Linked DNA regions of Homo sapiens: all the other regions are linked to region 5. Evidence: promoter capture Hi-C in 16 types of primary human blood cells and fetal thymus (Javierre and others, 2016). All regions are on one chromosome and are shown on one strand. The core of a region is centred on a gene start or on the middle of the fragment in contact, and the rest is flanking DNA. Distances in the headings are between cores, read along the strand shown.

What was found. The method cuts DNA at HindIII sites, captures the fragments that hold promoters and counts their contacts. A CHiCAGO score of 5 or more calls a contact.
Region 1: a fragment that was not itself captured here is called in contact with the fragment with the promoter of SAR1B in region 5 in 1 of 17 cell types (activated CD4 T cells); the score reaches 5.7 in activated CD4 T cells.
Region 2: a contact is called between a fragment that was not itself captured here and the fragment with the promoter of SAR1B in region 5, in 2 of 17 cell types (activated CD4 T cells and total CD4 T cells). The highest score is 6.7, in activated CD4 T cells.
Region 3: a contact is called between a fragment that was not itself captured here and the fragment with the promoter of SAR1B in region 5, in 1 of 17 cell types (activated CD4 T cells). The highest score is 7.8, in activated CD4 T cells.
Region 4: a contact is called between a fragment that was not itself captured here and the fragment with the promoter of SAR1B in region 5, in 1 of 17 cell types (M2 macrophages). The highest score is 5.6, in M2 macrophages.

The regions. Positions count from the first base shown.
Region 1 is chr5:134,258,939-134,261,638 of GRCh38, forward strand. No RefSeq gene overlaps it. Among named protein-coding and RNA genes, the nearest start is that of PPP2CA-DT, 34 kb to the left of the region's middle. The HindIII fragment of the contact is 2,440 bases long and covers 52-2,491 here.
Region 2 is chr5:134,191,818-134,194,517 of GRCh38, forward strand. PPP2CA (protein phosphatase 2 catalytic subunit alpha) reads right to left here. Exons shown (of 7, transcript NM_002715.4): 7 at 2,515-2,700. Among named protein-coding and RNA genes, the nearest start is that of SKP1, 16 kb to the left of the region's middle. The HindIII fragment of the contact is 1,885 bases long and covers 466-2,350 here.
Region 3 is chr5:134,148,590-134,151,289 of GRCh38, forward strand. SKP1 (S-phase kinase associated protein 1) reads right to left here. Exons shown (of 6, transcript NM_170679.3): 6 at 346-2,700. Among named protein-coding and RNA genes, the nearest start is that of SKP1, 27 kb to the right of the region's middle. The HindIII fragment of the contact is 2,975 bases long and covers 1-2,700 here.
Region 4 is chr5:134,319,830-134,322,529 of GRCh38, forward strand. It overlaps CDKL3 (cyclin dependent kinase like 3), which reads right to left. Exons shown (of 13, transcript NM_001113575.2): 5 at 1,962-2,074. Among named protein-coding and RNA genes, the nearest start is that of CDKL3, 46 kb to the right of the region's middle. The HindIII fragment of the contact is 3,778 bases long and covers 1-2,700 here.
Region 5 is chr5:134,631,411-134,634,110 of GRCh38, forward strand. SAR1B (secretion associated Ras related GTPase 1B) reads right to left here and starts at 1,418. Exons shown (of 7, transcript NM_016103.4): 1 at 1,318-1,418. RefSeq lists silencers at 1,130-1,239, 1,290-1,339 and an enhancer at 1,313-1,869. The HindIII fragment of the contact is 3,405 bases long and covers 343-2,700 here.

The DNA.
Region 1 (2,700 bases), core at 22-2,521, 370 kb before region 5:
TTAATTATTTGTGGTGTGATAAGTGATTATATCTTTATAAAAAGAACCCTAAGCTTTTAGAAACACATATTGAAATATTTAGGAAAGAATTATGTGATGTCTGGAATTTACTTCAAAATAATACAAGAGGGTGGGAAATGAATTGGGTAATAGATGAAACAAAACTGACCACGTGTTGATAACTGTTAAAGCTGGGTGATGAGTAACAGGAGGAATTATGAAAATCTTATTATGAGATTCTGTTTACTCGTGTATATGTTTGAAATTTCCCATAACAAAAAGTTTGTAAAATGTTGGGGGATTGGAAACATAAATTAAAACTGGATACAAAGAATCCTGCCACATCAACATGGACAAACATTAAGAAAAATATTGGGGGCCAGGCATGGTGGCTCACACCTATAATTCCAGCTCTTTGGGAAGCCCAGGCAAGAGGATGGCTTGAGCCCAGGAGTTTGAGACCAGGCTAGGCAACACAACAAGACCCTGTCTCTACAAAAAAAAAAAAAAAAAAAGAAAGAAAAGAAAAGAAAAAAAAAGAAAGTAAAGAAAAGAAAAATTATCCAACCATTATCTGGACATAGTAGCACGTGCCTGTAGTCCTAGCTGCTCTGGAGGAGGATCGTTTGTGCCTAGGAGTTACAGGCCGCAATGAGCTGTAAGCATGCCACTGCACTCCAGCCTGGGTGACAAAGTGAGACCCTGTCTCTAAATAAAAATTTAAAAATAACATTGGGAAAAAGAGTTGCAGAAGGATAGGACCAAATGATGCCATAATTCCATGTATATAAAATGCCAAACATGCCTAACAGTGCAATACGAACCTTTAAGGGTACATGCATATGTCAGTAAAAGTAGGAAGACCAGCATAGAAAGGAGTGGTACAAATTTCAGAAATGTGGTTACTGGGGATGCAGGAAAGGGAATACAATGAGGGAGGGTTACACAAAGGGCTTCCACTATTTTTGTAAAGTCTTAGACCTTTTTGTTGTTGTTTTGGGGCAGAGTCTCCATCTTATGGCTCAGGCTGGAGTGCAGGCTGTGATCGTAGCTTACTGTAACCTCCAACTCCTGGGATCAAGCATCCTCAGTCCCTGAAGTAGCTGGGTCACACAGTGCCCACCAAAACTGGCTAATTTTTGTATTTTTAGTAGTGACCGGGTTTCACCATGTTGCCCAGGCTGGTCTCGAACTCCTCACCTCAAGTGATCCTCCCATCTCAGGTTTCCCAAAGTGCTGGGATTTCAGGCGTAAGCCACTGCACTTGGCCAAGCCTTACACCTTAAATTGGGTTATGGACACATAGGTGATTATGATATTCTATACCTTTCTGTATTTATGAAATATTTCATAAGAAAAATACATAACTAAAATTTTAAATTAAAAAGTGAAACAGAAGGTTACTAATCACCTAGAGGAATGAGTTAGAAGATTCTTGCACTTCTTGTATTGACTACTAACTAAGCCCATCTCTTCCCACTGCCTGCCCCACAACCCCTGTAGCTTGTAAGATTTGTTTTTGTTAAGATACTATTGTGAAAAATAATATCGACAAAAATACAATTAACATATTTAAAGACTAATAATAAAACAAGTTCCCTTGCACTTTTTTTTTTTTTGAGATGGAGTCTCGCTGTGTCGCCCAGGCTGGAGTGCAATGGAACAATCTCAGCTCACTGCAACCTCTGCCTCCCGGGTTCAAGCGACTCTCGTGCCTCAGCCTCCTGAGTAGTGGGACTACGGGTGCGTGCCACCACGCCTAATTTTTGTATTTTTAGTAGAGACAGGGATTAGCCATGTTGGGCAGGATGGTCTGGAACTCCTGACCTCAAATGATGCACTTTCCTCAGGCTCACAAAGTGCTGGGATTACAGGCATGAGCCATTGTGCCCAGCCTTCCCTTGCACTCTTGACTCAAGAAACATGACATTACCAGTAACACTGAGGTTCCAGGTATGCTCTCTCTGATCACATTCCCAACAGACAGGGCTGCTATGCTGAATTTTGTATTTATTATTCCTTGGCTTTTTTTATAATCAAATCATATATTGTGTATTTTAAAATATATTTAGTTTTGTATGTATTTAACGTAAATATGTGGAACCATAATGTGACTTGCTCTTCTTATGAAAACTGTTTGTGATTTATTCATGTTGGTGTATATAATTCATTCATGTTTGTGTCTGTGTGTATATATATTAATAATACATGACAGTTTATTTATCCAGTCTGTTATTGATGGATTTTGGACTGTTTCCAGATTTTGCTGTAACAAACAACACTGCTGGGAGCATCCTTACATGTCACCTGAAGTCCATGTGCAAGACTTTCTCCAGAATAAAAACCAAGGAGAGGAATGGTTGGTCACAGGATGTGCCCATCTACAATTTACTAGATAATGCCAGGTAGTCTTCCCAATTTACACTCCCACCAGCAGAGTGTGAACATTTCCATTGCCCCATGTCCTCACCAACACTTGGTGTTGACAATAAGCTTTTGCCAACTGGGTGAGAATGAAAACTAGAATCTGTGGTTTTAATTTCCATTTCCCTGCTTACTAATAAAGCTGAGGCTTTTTTTTTTTTTCATATTTTTGGCCATTCACTTTCTTGCTTTTGTGACATATCTATCTTTTGCTCACTTTTCTTTGCGGTATGTTGTCTTTTTTCTTTGTGGATTTTTAGGAATTCACCATGTGTT
Region 2 (2,700 bases), core at 158-2,657, 440 kb before region 5:
ATTGCAAGTTGGACTCAACAGCAGGAGTACATTCTGCAGATTTTACATCTGGTATATTTCACCACACCATGTAACCTACTTTCTGATATGTTTGGATATACCTGACCTTAAAGCTCCCCTTTGACCAGGCCTGCCAAACCCAATTACTAGCTCTTGCTCCTATCCCCAGGTTCCAATGCCATACTCAGAGCAGTTCTAGAACTGCAAAAAGCCTAATGATTAGTCTCCTTGCAGATCAGAAGGTATGCTAAGCCTTGAGGTAGAGGCACTCAACAGCTTTGGGCATTTCTAATAGCTTTAATTAGACATTCCATTGTGGTCTTCCATAGTGTTCTATGGAGCAAGCACTCTTAACTTCCTATCACGATTCTGGCCTTTGACTTCCACCATCAGTAATCTTGCTTGCTGGTGGCTACAGCCTACCACTGCACTAAGGAAGAACAGCTAAATTATTTCTTGGAAGAAAGCTTTTAAAAATATATTTTTTCGAGACAAGAGTCTCGCAGTCTGGAGTGCAATGGCGCGATCTCAGCTCACTGCAACCTCTGCTTCCCGGTTTCAAGCGATTTAGTCTCACCCTCCCAACTAGCTGGTACTACAGGTAAGTGCCATCACACCCAGCTAGTTGTTTTTTTAGTGGAGACAGGATTTCACCATGTTGGCCAGGCTCATCTTCAACTCCAGGCTCAAGTGATCCACCCACCTCGGACTCCCAAAGTGATAGGATTACAGGCGGGAGCCACTGTGCCCAGCAGGAAGAACACATTAAAGTCCTTCCCACTAACAACACTGAATGGTTGAGAAGATTGTACACCATGGCTGAGGCTATCTCAAAATAGATTCCGAAGGGACCCAAGTAGTAAAATAAGAGCAGTGGTTTGCAGCATTAGCAGCATCGTACGCAGAGTAGACAAAATCCTGGCTACTTCTCACAAGCCTGTTGAGGATACAAACTAGTCATCCCTCAGTAATCTTGGGAGACTGGATCCAGGACACCTCCCTTGGATAGTCAAGTCTGGAAGTCAGTCCCCTTTACCAGTGGGTTCTGCATTCAAGAATACTGCATTTTTTGGCCAGGCGCGGTGGCTCATGCCTGTAATCCCAGCACTTTGGGAGGCTGAGGCAGGTGGATCGCCTGAGGTTGGGAGTTTCATACCACCCTGGCCAACATGGTGAAACCGTCTCTACTAAAAATACAAAATTAACTGGGCGTAGTGAGCCACGCCTGTAATCCCAGCTACTTGGGAAGCTGAGGCAGGAGACTTGCTTGAACTCGGGAGGCACAGGTTGCAGTGAGCCAAGATCGTGCCACTGCACCCCAACCCGGGTGACAGAGAGAGACTCCGTCTCAGGGGGAAAAAAAAAAGAACACTGCATTTTCAATCCCAGGTTGGTTGACTCCATTGACTCATTTGATGCAAACTCTGTGGATACTGATGGCTGGCTATACTTTAAATTATGGATTACTCATAATACCTAAACAATGAAATTGCTATGTATATAGTTATACTGTGTTTTTTTTTTTTAGACAGAGTCTTGCTCTGTTGCCCAGGCTGAAGTGCAGTGGCTCTATCTTGGCTCACTGCAACCTCCACCTCCCAGATTCAAGTGATTCTCCTGCCTCAGCCTCCTGAGTAGCTGGGATTACAGGCACACGCCACCATGCCCAGCTAATTCTTATAGTTTTAGTAGAGACGGGGTTTCACCATGTTGGCCAGGCTGGTCTTGAACTCCTGACCTCCGGTGATCCCCCCACCCCTGCCTCCGCCTCCTAAAGTGCCGGGATTATGGGCATGAGCCACTGCTCCTGGCCACTGTATTGGTTTTTATTGGTTCCTTTTCCCAAAAATATTTTCAGTCCATGGTTGGCTGAATTCTCAGATGTGGAACCCTTGACTATGGAGGGCCGACTGCACTTAATTAAATTCAACCTCAGACATGAGGGTTTGTGCTTTTCCTTAAAAAACAAAAAAGTGTGACTTTTTCCAGCATTCACTCATTAGCTATAATTATTTCCTCTTTCACTCTTGGGAATGAGGAATTCTGGTCCAGGCATGACAGCAAATACAAAACAAACTGGGGTCTGTTGCCTATATCACTTACTTGGTTACCACTGATCTTTGTATGTTCAACTTTTAAACAATTCAAACACAGTCCACATTTTTCTTTCCTCAAATTTATATACCAGCTGATAAAAATACATTTCAATCTATTTACAGGACAGCACTGCCTACAAGCCAACAATGCTGTGTTAGCAACATCCCATTTTTTTCTAGACAGTAGTACTTGTGCAATTAAATATATATAATAAAAAGTAGAAATAAAATGTACTTATATTCCTAAAACATAAAGCTTTAAATGTAATTGGAAAAAATATAGAAATCACCAGGCATGCCCAAAATAATACATCTACAACCTTCATAAGGCTATTTGCTAAAACAGATGTATACTTGTGAAGGGAAAAAAATCTAAATTAAAAAAGTTTATGAAGACTAGAAATATGTCAAAACAATGTGTGAGGACGAAGGCTTTAATGCAAAATAGCTTTAGCTCACAGAACCAAAATCCATCTGAAAACAAACAAGCCTATTACCAAACTATAGGTTACTAAACTATAGGCCCATTTCTAAGAACACATTTATGGTTGGAAGCAAAGGAATATTTATACTAAACAGGTAAAAGTCACCACTGAAACAGAGA
Region 3 (2,700 bases), core at 85-2,584, 480 kb before region 5:
GGGCAGAGAGAAAAGAAAACATTCCACAAGTGCATATCCTATTTCAAGGAAAACAAGAGCAAACGAGTCTTTTATAACCTATTAGCACCACAAAATCCTAAAGGAGGATTTTTTAATAGCACCCCTTCCTCCCAAAGACTGCATCTTTTTTTTTAATTATTATTATTATACTTTACGTTTTAGGGTACATGTGCACAATGCGCAGGTTAGTTACATATGTATACATGTGCCGTGCTGGTGCGCTGCACCCAAAGACTGCATCTGTTAAGACGCAAAGTATTTTTCATATTTTCACACAAGCCTTCAAGTTTGATAAATCTATTACCCACTTTTTAAAAAGTTACATACGCTGTTGGTGGACACGACAGCCACCATATCCACTTTATTTTTAGATTATTTGTATACATTTAGGGGGTACAAATGCAGCTGTGTTACATGAATATATTGTGTAGCGGTGAGGTCCGGGCTATTTTTAGATTATTTGTATACATTTAGGGGGTACAAGTGCAGCTGTGTTACATGAACATACTGGGTAGCGGTGAGGTCCGGGCTTTTAGTGTGCCTCTCACCCAAACAGTGTACTGTGCACGTAAGTAGTGTACATTGTACTCAACAGGTAGGATTTCATACCTCATCCCCCTTTCATCTCCCACCTTTTGAAGTCTCCAATGTCTATTATTCCATTCCGTATCCATATACCATGTGTACTCACTGTTTAGCTCCCTACAACCCACTTTTTACATGAGTTTCCACCAAGTACACTGCTGTCTTCCTGAGACCTATCATGAATGTAAAAGGTGTCATGAAGGCACCTCAATAGGTCAGTCAACAAGTAGATGATACATGTCAGGCAAGAAGTATTTCACATGGGACAGCCACTGGGCCACCATCATGCATTGTCATTGTCACTCCACTGAGTTCTATTTTTTGGATTTTGTGTTTAAAGTATAAAGTCATTTTCCAGAACAGCGTCTATTTAAAGTAGGCCACTGGAAGTTGTAACCCCAGACTTGCTTTTGCTTCTGAGAGAGTGCTAGAGGACACTAGCCATTCTCTGGACATCTGTCCCATTTTAAAGAATTCTGTTCTGGCTACTGGCCTAGTTGTTTAAAAAACCTACATTCTAACCAGGGCTTATGCAAGACCAGGTTGCTGCATCTGATTTGGTGTCTCACTTAGAGTACACAGGGTACCTGAACAATGCAGTCTTTGTGTATTGGCGGGGAAGTCTTTGGCAACTCTGTTTAAATCAGATCAGCTTTTTTTTTTTTTAATCTGACTTCATAAAGGAAACTCAGATCCTCCCAAATCACCCTGGTGCATTCCTGCGAGGCCAGAGGGTGACTTGAGATTGCAACCTCAAGTTCAACTGCTAATACCACACCAGTCCCCCTTCACTGCCAGCTGAGAACCAACCCTGTTTCCTGAGACATCATAAGACAAGATACCTTAGCCTCCCTTGAACATTTCCAGACAACTAGCAGACTGGCAACTTGGGTGAAAGACGTTCATCCCTCCCCTGGTACAGCTGCTCCCCATTTTGTTCTCTGTGGATATGGTGAGGGTTCAGCCCAGCAAGCAGACAAAGCCTATGTCTCCCAACGTGAAGGTGTCTACTTTAACAGAACCCCATGGATGGACTCTCTTCTGACATGTAATTATCTTTTGAATGGCTCCTGTGGTCTCCCATTCCTTCTGGCTGTGGACCCCTAACAGCTAGCTCAGAAGCACTGCACCCTAGCTTTGTTCAGTATACATAAGCCTGGCCAGGAAGGCCACAAGTAAAGGGAAGCGGAAGGGTTCTTTATATCCTGTTCCAGAGAGGAAGAAAGGGAATCAGTTCCTGCATCCGTTTCTCAGAAAACAGCACAGAACAGAAGGGGTAAGGGTAACAAGGCCATGTTAAACTACCTCTTAGGCCTATATGTCAAAGTAGAATTTAAGACCCAAATCTAGTTAATTGTATAAAAAGGCTAAGTTGGCTTTTCTTTGAGGTTCTTTGAGAGTCCTTAACTGCGACTCTCAGATCTCTTCAGAGCATTTTTTAAGCTCTTCAGGGCTTTAAGAGTTCACCAAGGGTTTCTGAAACAGCTGCCCACCCAAGCAGACCCTGGTTGTGTCAACTCCCCCAATCCCAACTTATTGTGATAACCTTGTTCCAAATCTCAAATCACCCTATGGGCATCTTTCAAATTCTGACTCCTGAGCTCTTCTCTAATAGTTTGGAGCTACTAACAAACCATTACTGGCAGTGAGCATCTGAAAATACTCAAAACGGCACCGAGTTTGAAAACAGGAAACATAGATGGTGGGGATGTTCACATACACAGTCCCTTAGAATAAAAGCCTAGCTCAGGTCAGGAAGGATTTTCAAGCTCTTAAAGATAGCATGGGATTAGGCATGTTAACTGGAAAGGGAAAACTTATGTCCTGGGGGTGGGAACTATACTATCACAAGCAGTCCTCACAAGTTAGGTCACTATTGGTAAGGGATGTTTCACTTCTGAAGACAAGATAGCAGCTGTGAATTATGCGGGAGATAGTCCAGGCCAATACTTCTTTCATATTCACCAGGGGCTCTGGACCAAGTCTTCCTTTTTCATTCAAGTGTTCTCATTCTTTTATCTGAAGCCTAGTTCTTTCAGGCATGTGCAATGTCAGGAAGCGGGGTGGGGCTTGGGGAGGGAAGAGGAAAAGCCA
Region 4 (2,700 bases), core at 196-2,695, 310 kb before region 5:
GATTTTACTATTAAGTGTTCATCAGCAAAATACATTGAAACCTTACTCAAAACAGCTAAAATATTAAAGGTATGTAGAAATCAAAATATTGCAAAAAAAGAAACAAGGCTAGAGAGTAGTAGCAGAATGGAAAGAACTATAAATATGAGTGGAGGGAACTAAGTTCTAGCAGTTTTGCTATAACTAGTTCTGTGACCTTGGGTAAATCTCTTGCTTTCTTGTGCTTGGTTTTCTCATCTGTGAAATGATAGGATTAAACCCCACCATCTAAGGTTCCTTCTAATATTAATCTCTTAACTAGAACTTCTTAAAAGACACAAAAATGTGAGGTGTCTTAAGGCTCTAAACTATTTCTTAAATCAGTAATTATCCAGATTTCACTGTTTTTAGAATTGTTCATAGTATCTTCCTCATAATCCTGTAATTACAAATTTATGCATATCTTCCCCACCACACAAAGAGCTTCTCAAGCTCCTCATCCACAAATAATAAAAAACAAATCTTGGCCAGCCATGGTGGCTCACGCCTGTAATCCCAGCACTTTGGGAGGCCGAGTCGGGCAACATGGCAAAACCGCGGCTGCACTAAAAACGCAAAAATTAGCCGGGGATGATGGCACGTGCCTGTAGTCCCAGCCACTCAGCAGGCTGAGGTGGGAGAATCACCTGAGCCCAGGAAGTCAAGGCTACAGTGAGCCATGATTGCACCAGTGCACTCCAACCCAGGTGACAAAGTGAGACCCTGTCTCAAAAAAATTAAAATTTAGCCGGGCGCGGTGGTTCATGCCTGTATTCCCAGCACTTTGCGAGGCCCAGGTGGGTGGATCACGAGGTCAGGAAATCGAGACCATCCTGGCTAACACAGTGAAACCCCGTCTCTGCTAAAAATACAAAAAAAAGCCAGGTGTGGTGGCAGGCACCTGTAGTCCCAGCTACTCGGGAGGCTGAGGCAGGAGAATGGCATGAACCCAGGAGGCAGAGCTTGCAGTGAGCTGAGATCGCGCCCCTGCACTCCAGCCTGGGTGACAGAGCGAGACTCCCTCTCAAAAAAAAAAAAATTAAATTTAAAATTTAAAAAACCCACAAATCTTGAAATAGCACATTCAAGGCTAACCATCATAATGTTTTGGTGGCCAAAGCAGATCATCAAATAATTAAACTCTCATCAAACATATTCTTTTTTTTTTTTTTTTTTTTTGAGACTAAGTCTCATTCTGTTGCCCAGGCTGGAGTGCAGTGGCGTGATCGTGGCTCACTGCAACCTCTGCCTCCTGGGTTCAAGCAGTTCTCATGCCTCAGCCTCCTGAGTAACTGGGATTACAGGCACTCGTCACCATACCTGGCTAATTTTTTTTGTATTTTTAGTAGAGATGGGGTTTCACTATGTTGGTCAGGTTGGTCTCCAACTCCTGATCTCAGGTGCTCCGCCTGCCTTGGCCTCCCAAAGTGCAGGGATTACAGGTGTAAGCCACCATGCCCAGCCTTCATCAAATATGTTCTTGAATAAGTTATTTAGCTATCTGGCTGTCTATTATTGTTTTCTTTAAAAAGAAGGGTGGTTTCTGAGTAAATAATTACTTTTCTATTTCCAAGTGCTTTAAAAAAGCATCTGACTCAACTCTACTATTTAAAGTCCTTATATAAAGGTACAGATATTTGTAGAAGCCTAATTTAAAAACAACTTTTAGACAAATTAAAGTACATTCCTATTGTACTATTTTTCTTAGCATCAACCATCAACATATGGCTTAGCTATTTGCATCCTAGCAAAGAAAATATTATTTGCTAAAGCAGAGAATTTTCTGCCTTCTTTATCAGCCCAAGGAACCCATCTGCTGCCATCTATCAAAACAATATGCTTCCCTGTACTTACACAGAAAAGCTAAATTTGAAAATCAAGCAGAATTGATCTGGCAATATTTATTTTAGACATGTAACTCATGTTATTTCAGTAATACCTACCCACTTTCAAAACAATTTTATGGAGTAAATCCAAATCAGAACTACTAGGAAGATAGGGATTTCCAGTGGCCATCTCAATGATCATACAGCCCAAAGCCCAGATATCCACAGGTCTGAAACAGATCAGGGAAAAAAAAATCACTTTTTCATGTAGAAATTTATAAATATATTCTTAAAAATATGTTTAAAGAAGGCCAAGGCTAAAGAAACAAGTAGTATCATTTTAAGTTTTGTTTTGTTTTTTTTCGAGACCGAGTCTTGCTCTGTCACCCAGGCTGGAGTGCAAGTGCTGCAATCTCAGCTCACTGCAACCTCCGGGTTCAAGCAATTCTCCTGCCTCAGCCTCCCAAGTAGCTGGGATTAGAGGCGTGTGCCACCACATGTGGCTAATTTTTGTATTTTTAGTAGAGATGGGGTTTCACCATGTTGGCCAGGCTGGTCTCAAACTCCTGACCTCGTGATCTGCCCGCCTCAGCCTCCCAAAGTGCTGGGATTACAGGTGTGAGCCACCACGCCTGGCCCATTTGTAAGTTTTTATTGTAGATCATATACCGACTTTATAAGAATTGGTAATTGCTATATTGGTGAGGCTATAGGAAAGGAATAGTCCTAAGTACTGTTCTGGGAGTGTAAACTTATATGACTTCTTTGGAGGAAAAATTGGCAAAAGCCACCAAAATTTAAATTGTATATATTTTTTATTGTACAATTTTATTCCTAGGAATTTATCCTAAGATAT
Region 5 (2,700 bases), core at 168-2,667:
TGGCACCACCATTTATTTGTCATCTGTAAAATGACAGCTAGTGCCTTACTCATAGTAGTCAATAAATGTTCCTTTTCTTTCCTTCTTTCATTGTTTCAATGTGACCTACTCTTCACTGATACTTTAACACGGAATATAGGACGTCTTCAAAGACACTTAGTAATATAGAGGCTGATGTAAGAACACACAAATAAATAATACTATGTTTAATTTTTCAAGTTAAAAGGACTTCTTCACCTCATTTTGTCCACTGTACCAAACACCTTAAATTGCTGACGAATTTGGTTCTTTCAGCTAACAATGTCAAAGTTTTAGCTGTTTTAAAACAAATCTTCTTGGAAAAGCTTCAACACCTTAAAAATCAGTACAGTGGCCCACTGAGGTGGCTCATGCCTTTAATCCCAGCACTTTGGGAGGCCGAGGCGAGCAGATCACCTGAGGTCAGGAGTTGGAGACCAGACTGGCCAACATAGAGAAATCCCATCTCTACTAAAAATAGAAAAGTTAGACCGGATGCGGTGGCTCACGCCTATAATCCCAGCACTTTGGGAGGCCGAGGCAGGCGGATCACGAGGTCAGGAGATAAGAGACCATCCTGGCTAACACGGTGAAACCCCATCTCTACTAAAAAATACAAAAAAATTAGCGGTGCGTGGTGGCGGGCACCTGTAGTCCCAGCTACTCGGGAGGCTGAGGCAGGAGAATGGCGTGAACCCGGGAGGCGGAGCTTGCAGTAAGCCGAGATCGTGCCACTTCACTCCAGCCTGGGCGACAAGAGGGAAACTCTGTCTCAAAACAACAACAAAAATTTAAAAAATTAAAACAAAAATCAGTACAGTTTTCTCAACAGTGTATCTTTTTTCCACTTAACTGGGACTTTGGGCTACGGAAAACGTTAACCAGTACTAGTAAGGAAGCTCAATTTGCCTCTACACTAATTGGGAGCGCTGAAAACACCAGGCCGTGTCACAGCCTCTTCAGCTGTCAGTGAGACCCGCCACCTTCACCTTACCAGGTAAGGAAACTGAGGCCCAGGGGAAGGAAGGGGCTTGCCTGCAGCCACCTCGTTCTTTCCTGAAAAGACCAAGCGTCTGACAGCAGCAGTGTTCTGCCTCGAGGGCTATCAGACGGCCCCGCGGAGCATGGATGAGACCTGTCCTCCCTCGCGCCGCCTAACCCCGGGGTGAAAAACAGGCGCCCCTTCACGCAGTGCCACAGGCAGGGACTCAGAGTAGGTCTTGGCCCTAAAAGTGCGCCTTCTAGGGGATCCATAGCTGCTGCCCACCGGTCCTCCCAGAAGGAGGGGCTGTCACTCACCTGCGACTGGAGGGAACGCAATCCCCTACTTGGCGTTGGCCGTACACCAGGAGACCGAACTGCAAAGCGCGATGGCTGCCGTGGCCCCAGTTCGCATCAGCCCCTTCCGGGCCGGCGGGTGCCTCACTAGCGACAGTCCGCAGGACCGCGTCGCCGAGCGCCCTAGGTTCCGCCTCCTGGCAGTCTTGCCGCCAATTCCCCAGTTGAGCGAGGCTGCTCGCAACCCCTAACACCGCCTGGGTCTCCCAGCCGCCTGGTCTCCCCACACCCGCCCGCCCGAAGGGATTTTAGGGGCCTGCGTGCCGAGAAAGGAACACCCCATGCCTCCCTAGGGGAAATTACTTTTGGCATTTTTTTTTTTTGAGACGTTGTCTCGCTCTGTCTCCCAGGCTGGGGTGCAGTGGCACGATCTCGGCTCACTGCAGCCTCCACCCCCTGGATTCAAGAGATTCTCCTACCTCAGCCTCCCCAGTAGCGGGGACTACAGGCACCCGCCACCACTGTCCGGCTAATTTTTTTTTTTTTTGAAACGGAGCCTCGATTTTGTCGCCCAGGCTGGAGTGCAATGGCGCGATCTCAGCTCACTGTAACCTCCGCCTCCCGGGTTCAAGCGATTCTTCTACCTCAGCCTCCTGAGTAGCTGGGAGCACAGGCGCGCACCACCATGCCCGGCTAATTTTTGTATTTTTAGTAGAGACGGGGTTTCACCATGTTGGCCAGGCTGGTCTCGAACTCTTGACCTAAAGTGAACCGCCCGCCTCGGCCTCCCAAAGTGCTAGGATTACAGGCGTGAGCCACTGCGCCCGGCTAATTTTTGTATTTTTAGTAGAGACCGGGTTTCATCATGTTGGCCAGGCTGGTCTCAAACTCCCTAGCATAAGTGATCCACCTGCCTCAGCCTCCCAAAGTGCTGGGATCACCACCGCGCCCTGCCTAAAATACATTTTCAAAGTACACGTGCTTATTGAATTCATTTTTTTTTCTTTTTTTGTTATTTGTGCTTATTGAATTCACCAGTGATTTACACAATGTAGCTACGTACCAGATAATGTGTTGGATGCTGGTTATTCAGCTTTTATTCAGCTGGTTATTCAGTTGTTTTATAGACGGTCTTGGCCAGGCGCGGTGGTTCACACCTGTAATCTCAGCACTTTGGGAGGTCAAGGTGGGTGAATCACCTGAGGTTAGAGTTCAAGACCAGCCTGGCCAACATGGTGAAACCCCATCTCTACAAAAATACGAAAATTACCCAGGCATGATGGCAGGTGCCTGTAACGCCAGCTACTCGGTAGGCCGAGGCAGGAGAATTGCTTGAACCCGGGAGGTGGAGGTTGCAGTGAGCCGAGATTGCACCATTGCACTCTAGCCTGGGCGACAGAGCGA